Regions from separate parts of the Homo sapiens genome. Here region 2 is linked to region 1. The links are contacts of gene promoters, found by promoter capture Hi-C in human tissues and cell types (Jung and others, 2019). All regions are on one chromosome and are shown on one strand. The core of a region is centred on a gene start or on the middle of the fragment in contact, and the rest is flanking DNA. Distances in the headings are between cores, read along the strand shown.

What was found. Contacts are between HindIII fragments. The study calls those that stand out against the background at their distance.
Region 2: a contact is called between a fragment that was not itself captured here and the fragment with the promoter of NDUFB10 in region 1, in 1 of the 25 tissues and cell types used here (thymus).

The regions. Positions count from the first base shown.
Region 1 is chr16:1,958,240-1,960,787 of GRCh38, forward strand. It overlaps NDUFB10 (NADH:ubiquinone oxidoreductase subunit B10), which reads left to right and starts at 1,299. Exons shown (of 4, transcript NM_004548.3): 1 at 1,299-1,515. The coding sequence starts at 1,386. RefSeq lists an enhancer at 1-356 and silencers at 1,079-1,388, 1,819-1,928. The HindIII fragment of the contact is 2,906 bases long and covers 266-2,548 here.
Region 2 is chr16:1,750,899-1,758,632 of GRCh38, forward strand. MAPK8IP3 (mitogen-activated protein kinase 8 interacting protein 3) reads left to right here. Exons shown (of 32, transcript NM_001318852.2): 9 at 7,250-7,261. Among named protein-coding and RNA genes, the nearest start is that of NME3, 17 kb to the right of the region's middle. RefSeq lists a silencer at 18-230 and an enhancer at 1,274-1,774. The HindIII fragment of the contact is 7,397 bases long and covers 959-7,734 here.

The DNA.
Region 1 (2,548 bases), core at 49-2,548:
CTGGAGCAGGGGGCGGCGCTCGTCGGGGAGGTTCGGGCCGCACAGGAGCCCACGGAGTGGGGGAGGCTCAGGCATGGCGGGCTGTAGGTCCCGAGCCCTGCCCCGCGGGGAGGCAGCTAAGGCCTGGCGAGAGAAATCGAGCGCAGCGCCGGTGGGCCGGCCTGCTGGGGGACCCAGCACACCCTCCGCAGCCGCTGGCCCGGGTGCTAAGCCCCTCATTGCCCAGGGCCGGCAGGGCCGGCCAGGCTCTCCGAGTGCGGGGCCCGCCGAGCCCACACCCACCTGGAATTCGCGCTGGCCCGCAAAGCACCGCGCGCAGCCCCGGTTCCCGCCTGCGCCTCTCCCTCCACACCTCCCCGCAAGCTGAGGGAGCCCGCTCTGGCCTTGGCCAGCCCAGAAAGGGGCTCCTCAAGTGCCGCCAAAGTGGGAGCCCAGGCAGAGGAGGCGCCGAGAGCGAGCGAGGGCTCTGAGGACTGCCAGCACGCTGTCACCTCTCACTGTTTGTCTGTAGGGTTGATGGTTCTGTGTCGCTGGCCTCAACCTCAGGACAGGACATGACCAGTGTCCCCCCTGGATAGCAGCCAGGGGCCGTGCCAGGTGTGGAGACTGAAGATGTGGCCAGCAGGACCCTGCTCAGTGGAGCTGCCTAGAAGCACCAGAGTGCCCCAGGGCCAGGATGGAACCATCAAAGCCGGCCAGAGGGCCCTGTGCCCAGGGTAGGTGCCTTCTCCCTATGAGCCGCCTAAGGGCAAGCCCTGCCTCCTGGTCTGCTCCCTGCCCTCCCCCAGACAGGCTCCCAAGTTAACTGGCACCAGCCAGTCCATGAGGGGCCCTTGTAGAGAGCGGGGCCCAGAGAAGTCTGTAGGGACTAGGCAATCCAGGAAAGCTTCCTGGAGGAGTAGGGTGTTTGGAATCGCGTGCTATTTGTTCACTTTGTCGTGTGCGCTCTAACGGCCTGTGTTCTCCATCACAGTTTATCTTATTCCCTGCTGCACTCAGCACAGTGCCTGGCGCGCAGTGGGAACCGAATGACCCCCTCCTATTCCTTATGTCAGTTGCCTTTTGTCTGTTTCTTTCATCGTAAGCAGGAATCTGTCCGGTTCGCGGCTGCTTCCCAGGCGCCCAGACCAGCGACCAGCACCGCGTAGGCGCTCGGCACAGACCGAGAACGGAGGCCCCACGCGGGGGCGCCCTGCGGCGAGGCGGGTCCCGGCCGCGCCCGGCGGAGCCGGGGAACTACAAGTCCCATGGTGCATCGCGGCGCCAGCGCGCAGACGCAGCCGCCCTCGGCGTCCTCTGTAGCGGGCGACCTAGGCCGCGGGACCCGGACGGAGGTAGAGGCCAGGGCAGCGCGTCCGGGAGCGGAGTCCGCGCCCGCCGCCGCCATGCCGGACAGCTGGGACAAGGATGTGTACCCTGAGCCCCCGCGCCGCACGCCGGTGCAGCCCAATCCCATCGTCTACATGATGAAAGCGTTCGACCTCATCGTGGACCGACCCGTGACCCTCGTGAGAGGTACGAAGCCCCAGCCCGGGGCTCCCTCGCCGGCCTCTGGGGACCCCTGGATCCCACACCCTGCCTGGATCCTCCAATGCCTCCGGGGTCCCGTCTGCCTGAGACCGCCCCCCGCTGCACCCCGGGGACAACTCCCCACCCCCGGAGACCTCCGAGCTCCGTCGCCTCCTTTGGCCTCCCACTGCACCCCGGACCTCACCTCCCAGGATCCCTTACTCTCCCCTGCACCCCGGGATGCCCCGCTTCTTCCCAGGACTCTTCCCTCCCTGCCGCACCCAGCGCCCACTGCCCCAGGACCCCGCACTGCTCTCCGCCCCCCGCCGCCCCGGGCACCCCTCCACTGCACCGCTGGCCTCAGGCCTCTCTCAAATGTCTCTCTGCCGGATGACCAAGTGTCGGGGTGATGGCCGAGATGCCCAAATTCAGCATCTCTGGAACGAACCGGGAAAATGCCCAGTTCAGTTTTTGTTGTTTTTTTTTTTCCTGAGACAGTCTCACTCTGTTGCCCAGGCTGGAGTGCAGTGGCGCGATCTCGGCTCACTGCAACCTCTGCCCCACCCCGGGTTCAAGCGATTCTCCTGCCTCAGCCTCCCCAGTACTAGGATTACAGGCGCACCACCACCACGCCCAGCTAATTTTTATATTTTTAGTAGACACGGGGTTTCACCATGTTGGCCAGGCTGGTCTCGAACTCCTGACCTCAGGTGATCCTCCCACCTTGGCCCCCAGGTGCTGGGATTACAGGCCTGAGCCACCGTGTCCAGCCTGGTTCAGTTCTTTTTGAACACTTGGGGTGCATAGCATGCTCTGGTGGTTCTTCCGTAAGAGGGTGAAGTCTCCAAATCAAACCCCCAAAGATCTGGAAACCGTGCAACAGCGGACCCAGCTCCCTCTCTTTTGTAGCAGTTGTAGAGCATGTCTGTCCTATGTGTCTGGATGTTCGAGCTCTCCTTTTAGCTCGTTCATTTCCCAGTGAGGAAGCTGAGGCCGTAAGGTGGTAAGTTCTGCTTGCTGGAGGCTCCCTGTTGGAGCC
Region 2 (7,734 bases), core at 3,407-5,906, 200 kb before region 1:
CTCCCAGAGTGCTGGGATTACAGGCGTGAGCCACCACTCCTGGCCGATTGTTTTAATGTCTTGGTGACACCTACCAGACACCATGGCCCATGGCCCACAGAGGTATGACACATGTGTACGCAGAACACACAGTGTCAGGTCGCAGCTGCCCTTCTCATTGTGGGCGGTGTCATTTCCGTGGGTGGCAGCACTGACGGGCACGGCCACCGTCGGTCCTTACTGCAGCATCAAGCCGCCCTCCTGCCAGTGTCCCCATTTATAGATGAAGAAACTGAGGCCGGGCACAGTGGCTCATGCCCGTAATCCCAGCACTTTGGGAGGCCGAGGCGGGTGGATTGCTTGAAGTCAGGAGTTTGAGACCAGCCTGGCCAACATGGTGAAACCCATCTCTACTAAAAATACAAAAAGAAATTAGCTGGGCCTGGTGGCGGGCACCTGTAATCCCAGCTACTCGGGAGACTGAGGCAGAAGAATTGTTTGAACCCAGGAAGCGGAGATTGCAGTGAGCTGAGATCGCACCATTGCACTCCAGCCTGGGTGACAGGGAGAGGGACTCTGTCTCAAAAAAAAAACTGAGGTCAGGGAGGGTGAGATGACGGTGAGAGCTCGGACTTGAACGCAGGTCCCACCCAGAACAGCAGCCCTAACTCTGAGCAAGGTCTGTGCTGTTCAGTAGCTCTATTGAGATGTGATTTCCACACTGTGTAATTCATTCACTTACGGTGTACAGTCCAGTGGGTCTTAGCATGCTCGGTGTTGACAGTCACATCGTCTTCACCCCCAAAAGGAAACCCCGTGCCCATGAGCAGTCGCTTTGTCTGCCCCTCGTCCCCAGCCCCAGGCAACCACAAATCCATGCTCTGTCTCTGTAGATTTGCCTGTTCCAGACGTTTCACAGCAATGGGCCTTTTCTGCCTGGCTTCTTTAACGTTGCATCACATCTTCAAGGTCCATCCCAGCTGCAGCGTGTCAGTGCCTCCTGGCTTTTCACTGCTGAGTAGTGCCCGTTGCATGGACAGACCACGTTGTGCTCACCTGTTTGCCCTAATGGGCCCCTGCTTGGTGCTTTCCACCTTTGGGAGGCTGTGAATCGTGCTCCAGCCACACTCTGACCCCCGCCCGGCTCCAAGAGATGACCAGGATTGGCAGCTTCCTCACCAACCAGGGACTCTGTGGCCTGCGCATCCGCCCATCCTGTTGGCTGTGGTACCCTGTGCTCAACCCGTGGCCTTTGTGCTGCCTCGCCCTGCTGCACAGCCACCCCCTGCAGCACCCACCTAGAGGGCACTGGCCAGGAGTCTGCTTTCCCACGAGACCGTGAGGCAGTCCTTTTCTCATACCACGATGGAGGCCGAGTCACTGTGCGCTCCACGATGAGGCTGCAAGTCACTATGCGTTCCACGCCCTCCGTGCACTCTGGGCTCTGCCACCCTACTCTGCAGGGTGCTGGTCATCTGGGCATCGCCGAGCTCAGGCTGGCACGACAGGCTGCTCTTGGGAGTAACAGACCTTTTGGTGCCTTTCCAGAGCCTTAAACGTAATGCGTATAAGAAAGGCAGGGAGGCCAGGCACAGTCACTCACACCTGTAATCCCAGAGCTTTGGGAGGCCAGGGCAGGAGGATCACCTGCGCCTAGGAGTTCAAGACCAGCCTGGTCAACATAGCGAGACCCCATCTCTACAAAACATTTTATAAAAAAATTAGGCAGGCATGGTGGTGTGCACCTGTAAGTCCCAGCTACTTGGGAAGCTGAAGTGGGAAGATCACTTCAGCCTGGGAGTTTGAGGCTGCAGTGAGCTGTGAGCACACCACTGCACTCCAGCCTGGGTGACAGAGTGAGGCCCTGTCTCTTAAAAAAAAAAAAAAAAAGAGAGAAGGAAAAGAAAAAGTCAGGCAGTCCTGATGAGTGGGGACCTCCTGCTGCTGCAATCTGTTGATGGAAGGTTTTTGAAACAGAGGAGCCTGCTCTCTGGCAACCAGGATGGACAAATGAGCTGGGACCTGCGCCCCTCTGCCCTAATCAACTCGCCCCATGTCCAGCTCAGCTGCAGAATGGGCATGAACTCCTGAAGACAGCAGGAAAAGGAGTACGCCCTTGTGTGGCTGCCAAGCAGGGGAGAGCCTGGAGCCTGCACAGATCTGGGAAAGAGCATCATTTCAGAAACACGTCAGCTTTGCACGTGACGGGAGGGTGCTTCTGCCAAAAGTCGGCAGGTGGAGAGCGACATCCCTCCGTCCAGCGTCTACGTGGGCGGCCCTGCACCTCTCTCAGCATTTTTACTCTGAGTTCCTTTGGTGATGGAGAAATAAAAAGAGCCCAGGTCGGGCATCTGTTGTATTCCATCGAATCTCAGACAACACCAATTTTAAGACTTTTTTGTTTGTTCGTTCGTTTGTTTCCTATAGAGGTAGGCTGTTGCTGTGTTGCCAGGGCTGGTCTCAAACTCCTAGACTCAAGTGATCCTCCCACTTTGGCCTCCCAAATCACACTGGAATTACAGGTGTGAGCCACTGCACCCAGCCCACATACCATTATTTATTTATTTATTTATTTATTTTTGAGACGGAGTCTTGCTCTGTTGCCCAGGCTGGAGTGCAGTGACACGATATCAGCTCACTGCAAGCTCCGCCTCCTGGGTTCACGCCATTCTCCTGCCTCAGCCTCCCGAGTAGCTGGGACTACAGGTGCCTGCCACCATGCCCGGCTAATTTTTTGTATTTTTTAGTAGAGACGGGGTTTCACCATGTTAGCCAGGATGGTCTCGATCTCCTGACCTCATGATCCGCCCACCTCGGCCTCCCAAAGTGCTGGGATTACAGGCGTGAGCCACCGTGCCCAGCCCCACGTACCATTATTTTAGGAATCTTCAAGAAAGAAAAAACTGCTGCAAATTAAACTATAATGTGACAGTGATTGTTTAAGACCTACTGAAATTTCAGAAATGTTAACATGAGGAAAAAAATGTACGTCTTAGAATTGGTATACTAGGACCGGCCGGGCACAGTGGCTCACGCCTATAATCCCAGCACTCTGGGAGGCCGAGGCGGGTGGGTCATGAGGTCAGGAGTTCAAGACCAGCCTGGCCAAGATAGTGAACCCCATCTCTACTAAAAATACAAAAGAATTAACTGAGTGCAGTGGCAGGTACCTGTAATCCCAGCTACTTGGGAGACTGAGGCAGGAGAATTGCTTGAACCTGGGAGGCAGAGGTTGCAGTGAGCCGAGATCGCACCACCGCACTGCAGCCTGGGCAGTAAGAGCGAAACTCTGTCTCAAAAAAAAAAAAAAATTGGCCTAATAGGGAGTAAGGGAATTAATACTCACTGAGTATGTCGCTGGTGCTGGGAGCTGTACCAGCTATTACCGCACTACCTGGTGGGAATTTCACAGCAAATATTCACTAAGGAACTTATTTTTCTGTTTCACAAATGACTAATACTCAGAGAAGTTATACTATGTGCCTTGCATTGCTGAGCGGAATCTGGAATCCACGCAGCTGATCTTTCTCTCCGCTCTGCTCTGCATGGACGAGGCAGCCCTCAGGAGAGATTCCACCGATGTAGTAGCCAGATGTAGAAACTGTCCACAAATAGGCCGGGCACAGTGGTTCATGCCTGTCATCCCAGCACTGTGGGAGGCCAGGGTGGGCGGATCACAAGGTCAGGAGTTCGAGACCACTCTGGCCGACGTGGTGAAACCCCATCTCTACTAAAAATACAAAAATTACCCGGGTGTGGTGGCGGGCCCTGTAGTCCCAGCTACTCAGGAGGCTGAGACAGGAGAATCACTTGAACCTGGGAGGCGGGGGTTGCAGTGAACTGAGATCATGCCACTGCACTCCAGAGCGAGACTCCGTCTCAAAAAAAAAAAAAAAGAAGAAGAAAATATCCACAAATAACCTTGAGAAAAGACAAGCCTGTGTAAGATTCAGAAGCACCATTGAAAGACATAAAAGAAGCTGTACACGCAGAGGGTGTTGCCACGTGCCCGGACCTGAAGACACACCCTGTGAGCTGTCTGCTGACATGACAGGCAGCCCCACCGTTCCCACAGGAATCCGTTCATTACCAGTAAAAATACCCACATGCTTGTTGGAGATTTTTCTGGAACTCTATGAATGGATCTGAAGTTGATCCAGTAGAGGAAACATGTGAGAATATCCCAGAAAATGTGGGGAGAGAAAAAGCTTGCAGGATTCCACATAAAGCTGCGGCAGTTGAGGCAGGCAGCAACAAACCTGTGATACGAGCTCATGAGCTCAGGGCCAAGAGCCAAGACAGACCTGGAGCCATGGGGAATTCATCTATGTATGACAAGTATGGCATCTCAAACCGTGGAAAACGGGCAGATGAGTCAGTAAATGTACTGCCTTAGTTGCTGCTGGTGTAAAATGAAGTCTAAGCCTGACCTCCCCGTAAACAGCAGTGATTTCCAGGTGGATTAAAGATCTAAGTACACAATTACGAGGACAACAGAATGCAGCCGGGTGTGCTGGCACCTGTGGTCCTAGCTACTTGGGCGTCTGAAGTGGGAGGATCACTTGAGCCTGGGAGTTCAAGGATATAGTGAGCCATGATTGTGCCACTGCACTCCAGCGTGGGGGACAGAGCAAGACCCTGTCTCAGAAAAATAAGAACGTCAACAAAGGATAGTAGAACTGGAAAAGGGGCCGGGTGCGGTGGCTCATGCCTGTAATCCCAGCACATTGGGAGGCCAAGGTGGGCGGATCACGAGGTCAAGAGATCGAGACCATCTTGGCCAACATGGTGAAACCCCATCTCTACTAAAAATACAAAAATTACCTGGGCCTGGTGACACATGCCTGTAATCCCAGCTACTCAGAAGACTAAGGCAAGTGAATCGCTTGAACCCGAGACGTGGAGGTTGCAGTGAAGTGAGCCAAGATCGCGCCGTTGCACTCCAGCCTGGTGACAGAGTGAGAGTCTTTCTCAAAAAAAAAAAAAAAAAAGGAAAAGGAAGTTTATAGGCTATACCAATAAACATCTGAAAAGATGCTCAATTTCGGAAATAATAAAGAAATAAAGAGAAAATCAAGAAAACTTTTTCCCTAAAAGATTGAAAATAAGACAATCGAGGCTGACTAGGGTGGAGCAGGTGCTGCCCTACGTGCCAGCCAGGGGTGATGGGTGCAGCCCCACCGAGCACTGGCGGGTGGTAATGGTGGTGGACCAGCAGCTGGAGATGCTCCTTCGAGGGAGCAGTCGGGCAGTCACAGGGCTGAAAAGTACCTCAAGCCCTCACACAGGGACCCCAAGTCTTGGGGGAGCGGGTACAGTGACAGATGATGAGATATTCCCATAGAGAAACACTACAGGGCATTGAAAGCAACCAGGCCAGGGGCGGTGGCTCATGCCTGCCAAGGCAGGTGGATCATTTGAGCTGAGAAGTTCAAGACCAGCCTGGGCAACATGGCAAAACCCCGTCTCTACCAAATACTTAGCTGGGCATGGTGGTGTGCACCCATGGCCCCAGCTACTTGGGAGGCTGATGGGGAGGATTGCTTAAGCCTGGGAGGTGGATCGCGCCACTTCACTCCAACGTGGGTGACAGAACGAGACCCCATCTAAAAAAAGCAACCGGGGTCAGGCACAGTGGCTCACACCCGTAATCCCAGCACTTTGGGAGGCCAAGGTGGGCAGATTGCTTGAGCCCAGGAGTTGAAGACCAGCCTGGGCAACATAGTGAGACCTCATTTTTACTAAAACACACACACACACACACACACACACACACACACACACACACACACAAATTAGCCGGGCGTGGTGGCATGTACCTGTAGACTCAGCTACTCAGGAGGCTGAGGTGGGAGGATCTCTTGAGCCTGGGAGGTCAACGTTGCAGTAAGCTATGATAGTGCCACTGCACTCCAGCCTGAGCAACAGAGTGAGACCCCGTCTCAAAAAATAAATAAAGGCATCCAGGAACCTCAGCACAGGAAAGTCCCATAAAAGTGCTGAGTGGAACACAGGAAGCCTCCCAGAGAGATGGATAATGGGGTCCCGTTTTTGTTCTTTGAAACCTGTTGCTTATCTAGAAGGAAACCTGAGAGGAGAATATTGGCCGTGAGCAGTGGTTGCCCTGGGAAGCCGAGATGAGAGAGAAGGACATCTGCTCTCGAATTGGGAATTGCTTTATTATTGGAATTCCGATAACAAACAGCCGTTTTGTCATCTAAATCAAGTGACATTTTTTTTTTAATTGAGGCGGAGTCTTGCTCTGTCGCCCAGGCTGGAGTGCAGTGGCGTGATCTCAGCTCACTGCAAGCTCTGCCTCCCGGGTTCAGCCACTCTCCTGCCTCAGCCGCCCGAGTAGCTGGGACTACAGGTGCCCGCTACCAGGTCTGGCTGATTTTTTGTATTTTTAGTAGAGACGGGGTTTCACCGCATTAGCCAGGATGGTCTCAATCTCCTGACCTTGTGATCCGCCCGCCTCGGCCTCCTAAAGTGCTGGGATTACAGGCGTGAGCCACCACGCCCTGCTCAAGTGACTTTTTAATGCCATTTTCCTTTCTGTGTGAAACAACCAAGTAGAAGAGAACCGCGTCCTCACCTCTGTTGGAGGAAGTGGTGTTTTCCCGCAGAGCGTTTCCCTCGCCAGCCTCCTGTGCAGGGAGGGGCCAGGACCCAGTGAGGATGCCTCGCCCGCCCCACGCTCCCCAGCCCTCCTCTGCTTTCTGGCATGTTCTCTCTGCCCTCCACAGTGGGGCCCTTGCTCCCATTGTGACTTCAGTCATCCTTCACCGAGGTCCTGCCCTACCCAGGCTGACCCAGAAGCCTAGGAGTCCAGCTCCAGGCCTGCGTCTGCGGTGTCTCCCTCGCCGCTCTCTCCCTCGCCCACGCTGGGGGGCTTTTGGAGACTGGGTACCTGCCACACCCTGCCACACACACTCTCCTCTTCACAGGCCTGCATCATGGGGGCTGCGGGGGGCCTGCCCTCCTGATGGGCGATGGGAGCAGAGGGCAGCAGGCTTCCGGGTCAGGGCTCGGCAACACAGCCCTGGGCTGGACCACGGCGCCTGGGCCTGGTTCCCTGCAGGCCTCTGCCTGGGCACACGGGGCACCGGGACCTGCTGGAGGCTGCTCCCTCTCTCTCCTGCCCTGCAACATGGGAGCAGCCGAATCATTGCTGGGTTTTCTGTAATAAGAATGTATTGTTAGTTCCAGTCCCTAATTGACCTTTGTCCCTTCCTTCCCCTGCCTCTCTGTGCGTCGCTGGACTCGCCAGGGGAGTTCTCAGGTGAGTATCTCACTCTCCTGTCTGTCTCCCCTCTGTGTGACGGGGGGAGTGGGTGGACGGGGGATGCCCCGAGCTATCCCGTCACCGTGGCTGTGTGGACTGCCCCCCACGTCGCCGCAGCGCCTCTGCTTCTGCTCGCAGCCACCGCCGCTCGGAAGCTTGTTCGGTTTGCTCCACCAGCCACTTGACAATGACCTGGATATCCAACCCCCCCAGCCTGAGGAGTCCCCCGCGGGCCATTTCTGAAGGCCCTGCGGAGCCCTAAGCCACGCACGGCAGTGACTGGACATGGCCAAGGCCAGCTCTGGGGCCTCCCCTGCTGTCAGGCACACCCCAGAAGTCAGGGGTCCTTGAAGCCCCTACGAAGCCCAGCCCGGGGTCCCCTCCCCACGTGGGTGGACAGGCCGAGTCCTGCTCTCTGGCTGCACAGCAGGAGGCTCCGAGGCCCCACCCAGAGGCTGTCCAGATGCAGC